Regions from separate parts of the Homo sapiens genome. Here regions 1 and 2 are each linked to region 3. The links are contacts of gene promoters, found by promoter capture Hi-C in human tissues and cell types (Jung and others, 2019). All regions are on one chromosome and are shown on one strand. Each heading gives the region's core, a stretch centred on a gene start or on the middle of the fragment in contact. The rest is flanking DNA. Distances are from core to core; before and after follow the strand shown.

Evidence for each region. The method cuts DNA at HindIII sites, captures the fragments that hold promoters and counts their contacts. A contact is called where the count stands out against the background at its distance.
Region 1: a fragment that was not itself captured here is called in contact with the fragment with the promoter of COPRS in region 3 in 1 of the 25 tissues and cell types used here (lymphoblastoid cells).
Region 2: a fragment that was not itself captured here is called in contact with the fragment with the promoter of COPRS in region 3 in 1 of the 25 tissues and cell types used here (dorsolateral prefrontal cortex).

Annotation. Positions count from the first base shown.
Region 1 is chr17:31,240,622-31,243,321 of GRCh38, forward strand. The region is part of intron 29 of NF1 (neurofibromin 1); the gene reads left to right. Among named protein-coding and RNA genes, the nearest start is that of OMG, 55 kb to the right of the region's middle. The HindIII fragment of the contact is 8,880 bases long and covers 1-2,700 here.
Region 2 is chr17:31,340,554-31,343,053 of GRCh38, forward strand. NF1 (neurofibromin 1) reads left to right here. Exons shown (of 58, transcript NM_001042492.3): 47 at 1-92; 48 at 2,456-2,500. Among named protein-coding and RNA genes, the nearest start is that of EVI2A, 20 kb to the left of the region's middle. The HindIII fragment of the contact is 6,090 bases long and covers 1-2,500 here.
Region 3 is chr17:31,857,855-31,860,554 of GRCh38, forward strand. It overlaps COPRS (coordinator of PRMT5 and differentiation stimulator), which reads right to left and starts at 1,390. Exons shown (of 4, transcript NM_018405.4): 1 at 1,247-1,390. The coding sequence starts at 1,345. RefSeq lists an enhancer at 377-1,051 and a silencer at 1,111-1,540. The HindIII fragment of the contact is 7,860 bases long and covers 1-2,700 here.

The DNA of each region.
Region 1 (2,700 bases), core at 13-2,512, 620 kb before region 3:
TAGTTTTATTTTTAGTTTTTTGAGGAACCTCCAAATGGTCCTCCATAGTATTATACTAATTTACATTCCTGCCAATAGTGTATGAGGGTTCCCTTTTCTCACTTTTCTCCTTGTCACCATTTGTTATTGCCCGTCTTTTGGATAAAAGCAACTTTAGGGTGATGTGATATCTCATTGTAGTTTTGATTTGCATTTCTCTGATAATCAGTGATGTTGAGCACCTTTTCATGTACCTGTTTGCCATGTGTATTTTGTTTGTGTGTTTGTTTGTTTTGAGACACAGTCTTGCTCTGTCACACAGGTTGGAGTGTAGTGGCGTGATCTTGGCTCACTGCAACCTCTGCCTCCTGGGTTCAAGTGATTCTCCTGCCACAGCCTCCTGAGTAGCTGGGATTACAGGTGCCTGCCACGATGCCCAGCTGATTTTTGTATTTTTAGTAGAGACAGGGTTTCACCACGTTGGTCAGGCTGGTCCCAAACTCCTGACCTCAAGCAATCCACCCGCCTCGGTCTCCCAAAGTGCTGAGATTACAGGCATGAGCTACCATGCCCAGCCATGGAATATCTTTTTTCTTTGCTTTATTTTCAGTCTGTGTTTTTCCTTATAGATGATGTCTGTTTCTTGTAGGCAACAGATTGTTGGGTCATGGGTTATTTTTGTTTGTTTTTAATCCATTCAATCACTCTTACGTCTTTTGATTGGAGAATTTAGTCCATTTACATTCAGTGTTATTATTGACGAGGACTTACTCCTGCTATTTTGTTATTTGTTTTCTGGTGGTTTTGTGGTCTTCTCTTCCTCCTTTTCTTCCTTCCTGCCTTCCCTTTAGTAAAAGTGATTTTCACAGATGATATGTGTTAATTTCTTGCTTTTTATTTTTTGTGCATCTGTTGTATGTTTTTGATTTGAGGTTACCATGAGGCTTGCCAATAATATTTTATGAGCCATTCTTTTAAGCTGATGACAAGTTAACACTGATGGCATAAAGCAGCAAACAAAGAAGCAAAAAGAAAACTAATAAAAACTCTACACTTTAACTTTATCCCCCTACTTTTTAACTTTTTGTTGTTTTTATGTATACCTTATTATACTGTCTGTATCTTGAAAAGCTGTAGTTATTTGTAAAAGGTTCATCTTTTAGTCTTCTCAAGATAGTAGTTCATACCACAATTACAGTGTTATAATATTTTGTGTATTTACTGTTACCAGTGAATTTTGTACCTTCAGATTTCTTATTGCTTGTTAATGTCCTTTTCCTTTTGATTGAAGAACTCCCTTTAGCATTTCTTCTAGGACAGGTCTGGCATTGATAAAATCCCTCAGCTTTTGTTTGTCTAGGAAAGTCTTTATTTCTCCATATATGAAGGATATTTTCACTGGATACTGTTCTAAGGTAAAAGTTTTTTTTTTTTCTTTATCACTTGAAATATGTCATGCCACTCTCTCCTGGCCTCTAAGGTTTCCACTGAGAAGTCTGGGGCCAGACATATTGGAGCTCCATTGTATGTTATTTGTTTCTTTCCTCTTGCTGCTTTTAGGATCCTTTCTTTATCCTTGACCTTTGGGAGTCTGATTATTAAATACCTTGAGTTAATCTTCTTTGGTTTAAATCTGTTTGGTGTTCTGTAACCTTCCTGGACTTGAATATTGATAAATATCTTTCCCTAGGTTTCATAAGTTCTCTTTTTTTTTTTTTTTTTTTTTTTTTTTGAGATGGAGGTTCACTCTTGTCGCCCAGGCTGCAGTGCAATGGTGCAACCTCTGCTCACTGCACCCTCCGCCTCTACCTCCTCTTTAAGGCCAGTAACTCTTAAATTTGCTCTTTTGAGGCTGTTTTCTAGATCTTGTAAGCATGCTTCATTCTTTATTCTTGTCTCCTCTGTGTATTTTCATATAGGCTGCCTTCAAGCTTGCTAATTCTTCTGCTTCATCAATTTTGCTTTTAAGAGACTCTTGATGCATATTTCAGTATGTCAGCTGCATTTTTCGTCTCCAGAATTTCTCTCTGGTTCTTTGTAATTGTTTCAATCTCTTCGTTAAATTTATCTGATAGGATTCCGAATTCCTTCTCCACATTATCATGGATTTCCTTGAGCTTCCTCAAAACAGCTATTTTGACTCCTCGGTCTGAGAGGTCACATATCGCTGTCTCTCCAGGATTGATCACTGGTGCCTTCTTTAATTCCTTCGGTGGGTCATGTTTTTCTGGATGGTCTTGATGCTTATGGATGTTCATTAGTGCCTGGGCATTGAAGAGTTAGGTATTTTTGTAGTCTTTGTAGTCTGGGCTTGTTTGTACCCACCCTTCTGGGGAAGGCTTTCCAAGTATTTGAAGGCACTTGGGTGTTGTTATCTTAAGTCTTTGGTCACTGCAGCTATATCTGCTTTAGGGGACACTCCAAGCCCAATAACGCTGTGGCTCTTGTACACTCATAGCGGTACCACCTTGGTGGTCTTGCATAAGATCCTGGAGAATTCCCTGGGTTATCAAACAGACTCTTGTTCTCTTCTTCTCTTCCCTTACTTTCCTCTAAACAAACAGAGTCAGTCTCTCTCTCTGTCTGTGTGTGTGTGTGTGTGTGTGTGTGTGTTGAGCTGCCTGGAGCTGGGGGAGGGGCGACACAAGCAGCCCTGTGGACACCAGCACTGGGAGTGCACTGGGTCTTGCCCAAGGCCTGCAGTACTGCTGCCTGACTACC
Region 2 (2,500 bases), core at 1-2,500, 520 kb before region 3:
AGCTTGATGAGGTCAACTTGTATTCAGCAGGTACCGCACTTCTTGAACAAAACCTGCATACTTTAGATAGTCTCCGTATATTCAATGACAAGGTAAGCAAACTTTGCCTTGAGGTTCCTAGATTACTCAAATTTAGTACTCTTCCATCTTTTCTTGTTGCTATTCTTTTAAAATCACAAGAAGTCCATAACTTAAGTAGGAATTTGTATAATGTAACTTATTGTGAGTATATTTCCTTACCAGCTCATAAAGAACTATGTAAACTTGAATGCATATTTTTTACATAAAAATAGCAAAAAAAAAAAAACAAAAAAAAAACAGTACTGGCCTAATACTAGTAGAATTACAGAATAAGGATAAATAATACATGATCATCCTTACAGAATGAGCATAAACAATACATGGTAATAATATTAATAGCTACCATGCCAGGCCGTATGCTAAACACTATACATTTATTTTTAATTTTCATAACCTTAAGGTAAAGGTTAGCATTCTCTGCCCCCCATTTCACACGTGAAGAAATAATCTAAAAGTAATCTTAGTTTTACTTAATAATGCCACTTAATGAAAAATACGTATAATTCATAGTAGATAAGGAAGTTGGAGAGTCTAAAGGAAACTTTTGGGTACTTAATTTTACTAGTTTTTTTATTCTGTCTAATCTTACTTTAAAATATACCATTAGTGGCCAGGAGTGGTGGCTCATACCTGTAGTCCCAGCACTTTGGGAGGCCAAGACAGGTGGATCAGTTGAGCTCAGGAGTTAGAGAACAGCCTGGGCAACTTGCAAAACCCCATCTCTACAAAAAAGGCAAAAATTAGCTAGGCATGGTGGCATGCACCTACAATCCCAGCTACTCGGGAGGTGAGGTAGGAGGATTGCTTGAGCCTGGGAGGCAGAGGTTGCAGTGAGCTGAGATCACGCCACTGCACTCCAGCTTGGGCAACAGAGCAAGACCCTGTCTCCAAAAAAAAGTGTGTATACATATATTACATACACACATATATATGTAATGTATGTGTATATATATATATAAAGTGTGTGTGTGTGTGTGTGTGTGTGTACACACATAAAATATGTAAAATCCAACTCCAATTAAGGTTAATAAATGTTAGGAGGGGTGCTAATGGGGTGTGTGTGTGTGTGTGCACGTGTGCATGTGTGTGTGTATATATATATGAACATGGGCAAATTACTTCTTAGTTCCTTTCTAATTTGTAAAATGGAGATCTAATTGGGGTTGGATTTTAGTTCATAGAGAATAGAGGAGAGAATAAAATAGTATGAAATTACGTCCCTTTTGTCTTTGGATAAAAATGGGAAGGGTCTAGGAGAAAAGAGGGGAATGTTTTTAAAAGAATGTGTATATACAGTGAGATTTGCTTGAAGTGAAATTAACTGAACTGTGGGTACAAAGAACAGGATTATGGTTTTAAGTGTAAAAAGATACTTGGTCTAAACATTATTAGTTCAGTCTACCAGATGTAGTGTGAACCTGGAACAGATATGGGTCTGAAAAATATAGAAGCAAAATTTTAGAGGTAAGAGGTCTTATGGAGTTTATTAATCAGACCTCCATTTTGCAAATTAGAAAGGAACTAAGAAGTTAAGTAACTTGCCCATGCTTGTACATCTGTTTTGGGACTAGAACCCCTCTGTCCTAATTCTCATTGCCGTTTTTCTAAAACTGTTTTGGGACAGTGGTGGTCAGCGATATCTAGTTGTTGGCTATTTATATGTTAAGAATATTTGCAAATTGGCCGGGTGCAATGGCGCATGTTTGTAATTCCAGCACTCTGGGAGGCCGAGTTGGGAGGATCACTTGAGGTTAGGAGTTCGAGACCAGCCTGGCCAACATGGTGACACCCTGTCTCTACTAAAAATACAAAAATTAGCCAGGGTGGCACATGTTTGTAACTCCAGCGACCTGGGAGGCTGAGGTGGGAAGATCTCTTGAACCCAGGAGGTTGCAGTGAGCCAAGGTGGTGCCACTGCACTCCAGCCTGGGCGACAGAGTAAGACTCCATCTCAAAAAAAGAATATTTGCAAATGGAGCATTGCAAATGGGGCATCTGCCTCGGTATTTTCATCTTCAAAACAGCCCAGTAGCGGGAGCTAATATTGATTCTAGTGCCCTTTGGATGCTAGGCATCAGAGTTAATAAGCATGTTAAAAGTCACCGGGATGTAAATTGACAGTCATTTATTTTGTATTGTAAATAAAAGTGATTTCATCTTCCACCATCTTCTTATTTATATGCTTGACTGTCTTGCACCAGTTAATTTGTAGTAGCTAAAATGTTCTGTGGTTTTCTGCAGTCAACTGAAAATAATTTCTCTCAAATTGAAAGGATTACTTATCTTGTCATACTATTGAACACAAAATTAAGTGAGCCTTTAAAGAAAGCTACTGTGTGAACCTCATCAACCATCTCATGATTATCTTTAATAGAGTCCAGAGGAAGTATTTATGGCAATCCGGAATCCTCTGGAGTGG
Region 3 (2,700 bases), core at 140-2,639:
TCTTTTCTGCTACATCTAAACTGTACTCGGCACCTGCTCCAATCAGCATTCATTATCTAGTCATGTCTGGGTTTAATAATTCAGTTCCACTCCCTGTAGTTAGTGACAACCTCTGGTCACTGCCGCCCAAGGAGAAGTCAGACCTCTCACCTAAACCACTGCCACGGCCTCCTAACCACCTTCCCATCCAGCCATCTGGCCCAGCCTTACAGAATTAATCACTACTCTGCTCAAAACCTTCAACAGCCCTCCACTGAGAGAGCACAAAATTAGCCATGGCATTCGCACGTCCCCTCTTCTCCCACTCCCATCAACCTGTTGAGCATAGTTCTCTGCATGCTCTGAGACCCAACTCCAGGCCATGTGCCCTGCACTTTCTCATCTCCACGCCTCTGCAGACACCACCAGCCTCTCACCTTGATCCTTTCCTGCTATGCCCTGACAAAATTAGTCCCATTCTATTCTGCACTCCAAAGTAATTTTCTTTGTAAGTGTCGCTGCATTTTTCATATCTTACTTTGGCTAAGTACCATCTTTGAGGCATCATTCATCCAGTCGGTATGTCTATCTCCTGTGCCAGGCACTATGCTAGGCTGTGCAAACAGCCCTAACAGAGGGTTCCTACCTTCAAGCCGCTCAGCACCTAGCCGGTACAGACTGTAAACAAGGACAGGTAAGAACTGTAATAACGGTCTGTAACGTTCTCGGGAAAACCAGGAGCTGTCTAGCTTACATGAAAACAAGTTTCTGGAAACCCTGCGTCAAACAGGGCCTTTCTGGTTTCAGTAAGGAGAAGGGGGAGCGCGCATGTGACATCTGGGGCTCAGGGTTAGCTGGCATCCCCACCAACGGACAGAGGTCCACAGGTCTGTAAAGTCAAGTCCCTCTCCTCGCCGCCCTCACCTGGCCCTCGCCCAGGCTCCTGGCAGCGGGCCCCGGCTCTCGGTCACCAGCGTCACCTCCCATTTACCAAATCCGCAGCGGCGCCCAGCGGGCGGACAGCCGTCTCTGCTGACCCAGAGCGCCCACCCACGCCCTCGGCTTTCCCCGCCCCGCAGCCCCGCGGCCCCGCGGCCTGGCCGTTTTCAGCTCGAGCGCGAGCCCAAACAGCGCTCCGTGTCGCGGGGCGGCCCGAGGCCGGCCAGAGGCGCTTCCCCGGCCCCGCGGCCCCCGCCCAGCCCGGCCCCGCGACTTCCCGCCCCAGGCTGCGGCTGGCTGTTGCTCCTGGCCCCCACGCGGCGCTCACCTCCGGGCTGGGGGGCGCCCCCCGCGCGCTAGGCAGCGGCGGGCCCCGAGACGGCTCCGCGGCCCCCTGCGCCTGGGCCCCGGCGGCCTGAAGGTCCATGCCCTGCGGCCCGCGGCTGGTCGCCCTGGACGCCGTGGGCCACGTGACGCGCCGGCCCGGCTGCCCGCCCGAGGATCCGCCGCAGAAGCGCCAATCAGCCTGGGGAGGGGGTGGGTACCGGCCAAGAGGGCGGGGCGCGGGGGTGTCACGAGCAAGCGGGGGCGGGGCGGCGCAGGGGGCGGGGCGCGCGGCCTCGCGGAGCCCGCCCCTCCCTCCCAGCGCGAAATCTGAAACAATCTCGGAGACGGATTTTGGAAACTCCTCTCGGTGCATATCCTAAGGCTGCACGACTAGCTGCGTGTGAAACGCCAAGCGTACCCTACTCGGCCACTCGGGGTGTGCTCCAGCTTCAAAACCCCGCGTGGGTAAGACACATGAGCAACCCAGTGACCTCCACCTTGAGCTAATGATCGTCTTTGAAGTTAATCCATTAGAAACCAAGATAGATGATTAAGACACAAACTGCAATATGCAGTGGACACAGAATACAGGCCACGACGCTTACTCATAATAATCCTGAACATTCGGGATTCCTGTATTTCCATGCTCAACGCCTGATACCGACAACCTAATTATTTCCCATTTTGCCTCGAAAGGTGGCTTCTGGGGATAGGCAGGGCCTGAGCTGGGAACAGCCCAACTGGAAAGACAGCCTTCCCTGCCTTCCCCACAGTGCCTAACCTCTAATAACAAACCAGCTCAAGGTGTGCTAATCACGTCAACATCAGGACATGAGACCCTCTTCCTTCATCCCCCTCAAAGACTGTGTTGTTTGTACAACACAAAAGGCATTTGAAAAAATTTAGCATAAAACTGACACACAATATTCGATATTATTTTTGTTCTATATGTAGATGTTCCTACACAGGAGTCAGTATCCCCAAGGCTAACTGCCTCTAGGTCAGCAATGTCCAATAGAACGTTCTTTAATGGTGGAAGTGGAAATGAAAGTTCTACTATCTGTACTGTCCAATATAGTAACCATATACCTACTGAGCACTTGAAATGTGGCCAATGTGAATAAATTGAATAATTCTAATAAATTTAAATTGCTACATGTGCCTTGGAGCTACTGTTTCTAACAGTGCAACTCTAGGTGTACTAGCTAGATGTGTTTTCATAACCTGCAATATTGAGAATCAGATACAGGGATGTGATGACCCCAGGTGACCACCCTTATAGCCTTGTGTTAAGGAGACTACCACTATCCTCTTTGCTCCCTAATCTACATATCTCTTTCGTAAAATTAAAGTGCCAAATAAGATTAAGAATGTTAAACATCCCAGGACTTAAGGGACAGGAAAAAGAGGAATTTTTTTCTTATTTTAAAACAAATGACAAGAAAACAGGGGCTG